Regions from separate parts of the Homo sapiens genome. Here regions 1 and 3 are each linked to region 2. Evidence: promoter capture Hi-C in 16 types of primary human blood cells and fetal thymus (Javierre and others, 2016). All regions are on one chromosome and are shown on one strand. Each heading gives the region's core, a stretch centred on a gene start or on the middle of the fragment in contact. The rest is flanking DNA. Distances are from core to core; before and after follow the strand shown. Region 1 overlaps ARMC8 (armadillo repeat containing 8). Region 2 holds the start of FAIM (Fas apoptotic inhibitory molecule). Region 3 overlaps MRAS (muscle RAS oncogene homolog).

The links. The method cuts DNA at HindIII sites, captures the fragments that hold promoters and counts their contacts. A CHiCAGO score of 5 or more calls a contact.
Region 1: a fragment that was not itself captured here is called in contact with the fragment with the promoter of FAIM in region 2 in 8 of 17 cell types (M1 macrophages, M2 macrophages, naive CD8 T cells and 5 more); the score reaches 8.4 in M1 macrophages.
Region 3: a contact is called between a fragment that was not itself captured here and the fragment with the promoter of FAIM in region 2, in 3 of 17 cell types (M0 macrophages, M2 macrophages and M1 macrophages). The highest score is 8.2, in M0 macrophages.

What each region holds. Positions count from the first base shown.
Region 1 is chr3:138,221,823-138,224,601 of GRCh38, reverse strand. ARMC8 (armadillo repeat containing 8) reads right to left here. Exons shown (of 22, transcript NM_001363941.2): 3 at 2,605-2,676; 4 at 1,071-1,213; 5 at 869-966. Among named protein-coding and RNA genes, the nearest start is that of ARMC8, 36 kb to the right of the region's middle. The HindIII fragment of the contact is 1,165 bases long and covers 936-2,100 here.
Region 2 is chr3:138,607,279-138,610,071 of GRCh38, reverse strand. FAIM (Fas apoptotic inhibitory molecule) reads right to left here and starts at 1,301. Exons shown (of 6, transcript NM_001033031.2): 1 at 1,135-1,301. RefSeq lists an enhancer at 564-653 and a silencer at 754-1,213. The HindIII fragment of the contact is 4,797 bases long and covers 1-2,793 here.
Region 3 is chr3:138,349,527-138,352,226 of GRCh38, reverse strand. The region is part of intron 1 of MRAS (muscle RAS oncogene homolog); the gene reads right to left. Among named protein-coding and RNA genes, the nearest start is that of MRAS, 2.3 kb to the right of the region's middle. The HindIII fragment of the contact is 1,360 bases long and covers 719-2,078 here.

The sequences.
Region 1 (2,779 bases), core at 269-2,768, 390 kb after region 2:
TTTCTGTAGTTTTAATAGAAATGGGAGTTTCACCGTGTTGGCCAGGCTGGTCTCGAACTCCTGGCCTCAGGTGATATATCCATCTTGAACTCCCAAACTGCTAGGATTACAGGCGTGAGCCACTGTACCCAGCGGAGACTTTTATCATTTTTTATTTTTAGTGAGAGGATCTCATTCTGTCACCTAGGCTGAGGTGCAGGGGCACCATCATAGCTTAGTATAACCTCAAACTCCTAGGCTCAAGCAATCCTTCCACTGCAGTCTCATGAGCTAGGACTATAGGCATGAGCCATTGCACCAGGCTAATTTATTTTTATTTTTTTCTTGTAGAGATGGAGTCTTGTTGTCGGGCGCAGTGGCTCACACCTGTAATCCCAGCACTTTGGGAGGCCGAGGCGGGTGGATCACAAGGTCAGGAGTTCAAGACCAGCCTGGCCAAGATGGTGAAACCCTATCTCTCCTAAAAATACAAAAAATTAGCCGGGTGTGGTGGCACGCGCCTGTAATCCAAGCTACTCCAGACGCTGAGGCAGAGAAATGCTTAAACCTGGCAGGGTGAAGGTTGCAGTGAGCCGAGATCGCGCCACTGCACTCTAGCCTGGGTGACAGAGCAAGACTCCACCTCAAAAAAAAAAAAAAAAAAAGAGATGGAGTCTTGTTATGTCACTCTGGTTGATCTTGAACTCCTGGCCTCAAGCAATCCTCCCACCTCAGCCTCCCAAAGCACTGGGATTACTGGTGTGAGCCACCATGACCAACTGAGACTTTTTTACATAACACAGTTATGATGAGTCTGAAGATGCTAAGCAAATTAGGAGTAGGCTGTTGGTGAAATGTAACTAATGTCTCAAATACATCTAAAACTCACTGTATACAGTAGCTCCTCTGGAGTGACAGGACTGGTGAAGATGGTACGCAGGCATCGGAGGCAAGCTTCAATAAACTTCAGGTCTGGGGACAGTAGTCCTATTAACAGAAATGAGATTTAGGACTAATCCTTTCAACCAGTATTTAAAGCACTGCAAACTGATTCTTAACCTTAATTGAGCAAAAATGGCTTCCCTACATACCTTGCAATAAGGCAGGGATAATATGGCAGTCCAGTAGAGACTTGACATTGTTTTCAGTACCCATAGCAAGACTTCCCAACACCACTGCACATTCAGTTTTCAGCTCTGTGCTTGAGGTTTCTTGCTGAAGCAAGTACAACAATCTAAAAAGAAGGAACTTAATAAACGAAGAGACTAAAAAATTTAAACAAGACTCAATGTGACCAAAAAAGGCTGTGCAGTCCACATACTAAAAATATGGTTGGCTGAGTTTATATGAATCCAATGGTCATTTGTTTATCTCATCTGCTAATTAAAGAAACATCTGGAAAAAAAATCTAGAAGAGGTTTTGAAAAAAAGAACTATCATATTCTTAGAGTTTATAAAAAGTGTAAATCTGAAAGTTGTCCACAGATAGTCTCTGTAGAAACAGCGTCATCAGAGTCCATGTCATCTACCACTTCCTGCTGGGTCTCCAAAATATGAAGACTCTCAAATGCCATGTGCTGCCAGATCTTAAACTCAAACTAGAAATGCTACTGCTCTGAATCCAGAGCAGTGGTGCAGTTTGTAGATATCGAGCCTATAGGGAATATTCAGAGCCCTTGTGCAGCTCCTCAAGCAAAGGTAGTTTCTTCTTTCTCCAGCTCTCTCATTTGGAAAAGGAAGAGATCCTCTCATTTCCACTCCAGCCCAGCTTGCCAAACAAATACTCCCCAAACCCTAACCTTCCTCCACTTATAACCATCTACCTTATGTTCTAAGACAGGACCCTCATGCTCCATAAAGCACTATTTATATATACCAAACATAAATCCCCTAAGAAAGGCTGCTGACAGCTTTATAGTTACTAAAGTATATGTTTGAGGTTGGTGAGTTAAAACACTTAAACCATTAATTCTGTATCAAAACCAGAAAATAAGGAGAAAAAAACAAAATAATAAATAATTCTGAATGAAAAGCTAATAGCAATTGCACAGAAAACTTAGCTCTGAGGAGCAAAAGTAAAGAGGAAGTTATGTAACTGTCATTGCCTGCCTAAAGGAAGCTTATTAGGTCATCAAAAGAAGAAATTAAACTTCCTAAACTTCTTACGTTAACTTAAAAAACAGCAAGTTGTAAAAATCAGAAGTTAAAAAATGAAACTGGATTAAAAATCAAGCAGGGTTTTTTTCCTTTAAATTCAAAAAGGTCTTAAGGCTCCTAATAAATTACCCACTCACACAAAAAACTGCCAAGGCTCTAAGGAAATGGAGAAGAAAGTATCAGGCTGTTGTACATTGCATATGTACTTTACGAACCCTTTTGTCATCAGGTCAAAGGTCTTCCTGAGTTTCCAAAATGTATTAACACATTCACTTCTTACTACATTCTCTGTTACTTTATAATTTTTTTCCTTAAAGATAGTTTAAATACTTACATTTATTTTTAAAAATAGGATTTATTTTAAGAATTAGACAGACAATACAGGAAAAATGGGTTCTATAATTGAGAGTAAGAAATACATTAGAAACTAGTATGAATGGCAAGAAAGGGGTGAGACAGCAAACATACCTTGGAACAGCTCCTAAAACAATGAGATTGGCTTTCTGCTTGTTGTTTCCAATTACAGCATTTTTCATGTCTCTGAATTAAGGGGAAGAAAAAATAAAGTATGTTGAGACAGCACTGAAGAAAAATCAAAGATCATTCTACTTCATTATGCAATATCTTAGATTTGACAAAGTAA
Region 2 (2,793 bases), core at 52-2,551:
GTCACACTCAAGTGTTGACATCTTCATCTCCGGGCCGGCCCCTTATGAAGTGAGGGGGGTCTCCAGTAAAATCACTCAGGAAGCTCCTCGAGCCAAGTATTCCCAAATGCTACTTACTGGAGGTACAAAAAGGAGAATAACTTTTCTGAGGGCCATTTCACAATCTATACCAGAAGCCTTGTGGTATAGACCGTGGATTCTATCTTGTTTTAGAACGAATCTTGTGCGATTCTTTCTACAGAAATGATCACGCTCAAAAACCCAGATACAACGATGCTCAATGAATTACTTTTTGCAATAACTAAAAACTGAAAACCACTTGTACGCTCACCATCAGGGAGAAACTACATTTAGTAAATCACAGTCCAAAGCCATGCCAAGAGTCAGGGATGGATGAGGTAGTCAACCTGACACACAGGAATGTACAGTCGAGAGAGAGAGAGAGAGAGAGAGAGAGTCGAGAGAGAGAGAGAGAGAGTCGAGAGAGAGAGAGTCGAGAGAGAGAGAGAGAGAGAGAGAGAGAGAGAGAGAGAGAGAGTTTCAGCACTTTATGATGCAGGTTCTGCAAAAACAAGCCCCGCTCATGTTACAAGGAAAAACCATCTGGAAGAATATACACCCTCATGTTAACGCAGCTTGTCTCTGGGGAGCAGCGGCACGGCTGCTTTGCTTGCTTCCTTGCTTTCTGTTCCACGTTTTCGACAGTGAGAAGTATTATCTTTAGAGGTCGCGAACAGGCCGGAGGAGGGTGCGGCAGGTCGCGGGGCAGGGCCTCGCTAGGCAGGGACGCCCCCGCACCGCCCCGGGCTGGCCCCGCGCCCCGCGCCCCGCCGCACCTCCACCTTTGCCGGCGGTGAGCGGGAGCCGCGTCCCGCCCCGAGGTCTGGGATCACCGGCGGGCCGGCTGGAAGCGTCCGGAACTCACCCAGCGTCTCACCCGCGCGGGTCTCACCGACCGCGCAAACACCGCCCGCCGCCGCCGCCCAGAGATGGCCGCCGCCGGCGCAGCAGGGCCGAGAGCGTGGGGACGCCGGGGGGCTGAGTGCAGGGGTTTCCAGGGTGCGGAGCGGGCGGGCCCGAGGCGTCCGGGCGGGCGCAGGCGCGACACCGACCCCACCCGGTCTGCTGCCTCACCTGTGCTCTGTGGGCCGCGGGAGGCTCTGGGGTAGGTTTCACCAAACAACCGGTTGGTTCCGACTCGGCTGCGTAGGCCGCGTGGCCTTGCTCCCCTGGCCGAGAAACAGGCGCAGCCGGCGCGGAGGTTGAAAGCTCTGCAGGCGCGAGTACCAAACGCGCCGACTGTTTGTCGCGCCTCTCAGGTCCCCTGGGGCGACCAGCGCAGGAGGCCACCCCTCCCGCCGCCACGGACCCAACCCTGGTCCTCTGCCTTAGCCGAAGGCCGCACCCTCCGCGCATAGGCCTTCCTCAGCCCCAACCCAGGACATCACCATGTCCCGCAGTGCGTCCAGTCTTCCTGCCAGCAAGTGTGGGTAGGAGCCGGCCGCTGGCCCCGCTCTGGGCTAGACGGTGGGGACATACTGGCGGGCAAAAACAGCCCTGTGCCTGCTCTGCAGCTATGGGGAAGGAATATCTGTTCATGGCAGCAATAGCATTCGCTCCTTAAAACCTCTTTATGAGTCTCATTCCTTTTTTAAAGACCCAAACTACTTAAGGTGGGCATGAAGCCCCCATGTGTGATCTAGCCTCTGCCTGCTTGGCTTCATTTAGGTCCTTAAAGGATGCAGGTTTCTTCTCGCCCAGGGCCTCTGCAAATGCTCTTCTCTCTGCCTGGACACTCCTCACCTCTTCCCTATTGTGAGAGTTCTTCATATATCATTTCTTAGATTACACTATCCTGGCCCATAAGACTTGCAGCATTGCTGGGTGTGGTGGCTCATACCTGTAATCACGGCATTTTGGGAGGCAGAGTGGCGGATCTCTTGAGTCCAGGAGTTCAAGACCAGCCTGGGCAACATGGTAAAAAAAAAAAAAAAGAGAGAGAGAGAATGAGAAAGAAGAAAAGAAAATAATTAGCGGCTCAGGCCTGTAATCCTAGCTACTTGGGACGCTGAGGTGGGAGAATTGCTTGGGCCCTGAAGGGAGGTAGAGGCTGCAGAGAGCTGTGATTGCACCACTACACTCCAGCCTGGGCAACAGAGCGAGACCCTGTTTCATTAAAAAAAACACACACAAAAAGAAACAGCCGGGCTCAGTGGCTCACGCCTGTAATCCCAGCACTTTGGGATGCTGAGGCAGGCATGGCAAAACCCCGTCACTACTGAAAATATAAAACTTAGAGGGGCGTGGTGGTGCATGCCTGTAGTCCCAACTACTTGGGAGGCTGAGGCAGGAGAATCGCTTCAACCTGGGAGGTGGAGGTTGGAGTGAGCTGAGATTGAGCCACTGCACTCCAGCCTGGGCGAAGAGCAAGACTCTGTCTCAAAAAAAAAAAAAAAAAAAAACAGCCGGGCACAGTGGCTTACACCTGTAATCCCAGCACTCTGGGAGGCCAGGTGCGGATTGCCTGAGGTCAGAAGTTTGAGACCAGCCTGGCCAACGTGGTGAAACCCTAGCTCTACTAAAAATACAAAAATTAGCCGGGCGTGGTGGCATGCGTCTGTAATCCCAGCTACTCAGGAGGCTGAGGCAGGAGAATCACTTGACCTTGGGAGGTGGCAGTTGCAGCGAACTGAGATCGCCTCACTGTACTGCAGCCTGAGCCACAGAGTGATACTTCGTCTCAAAAACAAAAACAAAAAAAACACAAAAATTGCAGCACCAGGGATTCTTCTT
Region 3 (2,700 bases), core at 149-2,648, 260 kb after region 2:
CCATTGAATGCATGGCGAGTGCAGCGTGGTCTCCACCTCAGCCTGAACCTCATCACCTCTGCGGAAGCATGAGGCAGTGCCAGCACTGCCCTCTTTGTCAGACCCACTGGCTGACTGCACAGACTTCAACTCACAGGCTGGGCAATGACAACTGTCCCACTCTATTTGTACTCTTGGCCCCCATCTCTGCCCTCTCACACTGCACTGGAATGGCATGCTGACTTGGCTGCACAATGGGCTTACAGAATAGGTCTGCCATGAACATTAGAGAAGTCACGTGCCTTTAGATCAGAGATGGCTAAACTGGGATCCAGGGCTGGTTTTCAGAGATCCATGAATCCCCTGAATTATATGTCCAACTTTGTACATCAACGTTCCCTGGGCTTCTCATCAACATATTAAAGAGGCTGTGACTCAAGAAGACAAAACCTATTACTCTGAACTCCAGACACTCAGCCTTTATGGCTACCTGTCCCATGCAGGAACTTGCTGGAAGTGGCACTGATATCCCATTCCTGTGTACAGAGACCTTCCAAGAGCAGAGAGCATCTTTGGGAGATCTGAGCTCTGCTTAATCTTACTTACTGTTATTTGGGTTTTGTTACTTGCAGCCAAAGCATCCCCATTGATTCAGTACTACAGGGCTCAGAGGCATGATCTAAGACTTAGGAGGGCTGACAGGGACTCAGAGTCCAGCAAGAAAATTCCTCTTAAAGCTTGAATTCTCTGCTGAGTCCCTAGACAATGGGTACCTGCCAGGTGTCCCAGGTCTCAGGGAACTCCTCCAGCTCCTTTTTTACCTGTCTCCAGATAAAGGTGACTGTACCTTCTATGCCTGCCCAGGGCCTGGCAGGTACAGAGCCTCTGGAACTCAATGCACATCCTCTGGACACTTAAGAACATTCCAGCATTGCACAAGAATGCATTCCCATTCAGTTCACATGAGTATGCTTGTACAAACTACACAATGCTCATGAGCAGGTATGTTTTTCAATTGCTTTCAGGGAGACACACTCTGTTTGGGGGCATTTCATTGGCAGAACAGATTACAATGGTTAAATCTGATGTGAAATATATTATGGAAGCCACATTTCCCTGAGAACTCACTAGATCCAGGAGGCTGGTCAACATGTGATTCTGACTGAGGTTAGGACCAGTCATCCCAGGAGCCTAATTTATCAGAGGCCAATAGTCATTCCTGGTTCCAGGTGATCACTAGAGCTTAGGAACCAAACCAACCCCAAGGGTAACTGACTTGTCACTTTTTTTTTTTTTTTTTTTTTTGAGACAGGGTCTTGCTCTGTCACCCAAGCTGGAGTGCAGTGGCGTGATCATGGCTCACTCCAACCTCTGCCTTCTGGGCTTAAGCAATCCTCCCACCTCAGCCTCCCAAGTAGCTAAGACTACAGGTGCATGCCACCAGGCCCAGCTAATTTTTGTAGAGACGGAGTTTCACCATGTTGCCCTGGCTGGACTTGTCACTTTATAAGTAGCTCAGACGAACTGAGTATGAAATACCAGTGGCTAGAGCTAATAATAACATAAAAGTTAAACCTGTCATAAAGTGTCTTATGTAGGTGAAAACAGAGGTGGAAATTAGCAACTGTCTTATGGAGGAGCGAAGCTGACAACGCTGGAGACAATCGCTTGCTTCACCAAAGGGCCTTGACTACCGCCTACCCCAGTCCCGCCCCCAGCTTTAGGAAATGCCGAGGTCACATCTAGGGGGTCAGTTTCCACCAGAGCACGAGGCTTGCCCAACACCTCCCTCCCCAGAGGCTGGCAGACCTCAAAAACCCCAGAGCATGAAAGCCCCATGCCTCCCACCCCGGCAGAAAAAGGACAAACTACACCATAAACTACAGAGAGAAGCTAACTGGCTGCTGGGCAGTGTGAACAGACCTAAGGGTGAAAACCATTGCCCGAAACATTTTCAGCCCCACTCAGCAGGGACATGTGATTTACAGGAAATTAGGAGGTTTACAAAATGTTAGCAGCTCAAGTTTCTTCCCCGGGAAAAGAAGCAGGAGAAGCTCTAAGAACCGTATCCGAGAAAGTGCTTTGTTCACTGCTAAGCTTCTGACACGAGTCAGTTATTAATACCCACAGCTCACTGCCTCACACTTCAACCCACCAGTGAATGTCTATAGTGAATAATTATAAAACAATATATTACAAAACTCTAACACAGGCTGCACCAGAGCCTTCCGAAGCCCAGGACAGCCACGTGGCCAAAAGCATGGACTTCAGATATGATCTTGGGCAAGCTGTTGGCTCTTTTTCACCCCAGTTCCTCCATCCTTTACAATAAACAAAATCCTTCTGGAGGTGTCTTGTCAAGAGGTGTCTTGTCAAATGATGAGCAAATCCACTTCAAGTGCCTGGTCTTTGGAAGCCCTGTTGGTTGCTGTTATTACAGTGGAGTTTCAGAGCTCTTAAAGTCATATCTCCATCTTACTTCTGCTGCCAGACAAACCTCTGGAGGCCACGATTCCGAGCCTTGTCAGCCACCCTCTCTGGTCAGGTCCAGGACAGAGTGAGTCCTAGAGGAGCAAGGCCAGGGAGGTTCCACACCATCAGGGGCCATTGGGGAGTAGGGGCAATGGCAGAGCTCTATGATCAAGGCCCCAGTGGCCTTGATGGACTCTGTCCACCTCTCCAGACTCCACTTTGCCCCAGGCCAGAACAGACCTCAGCTCT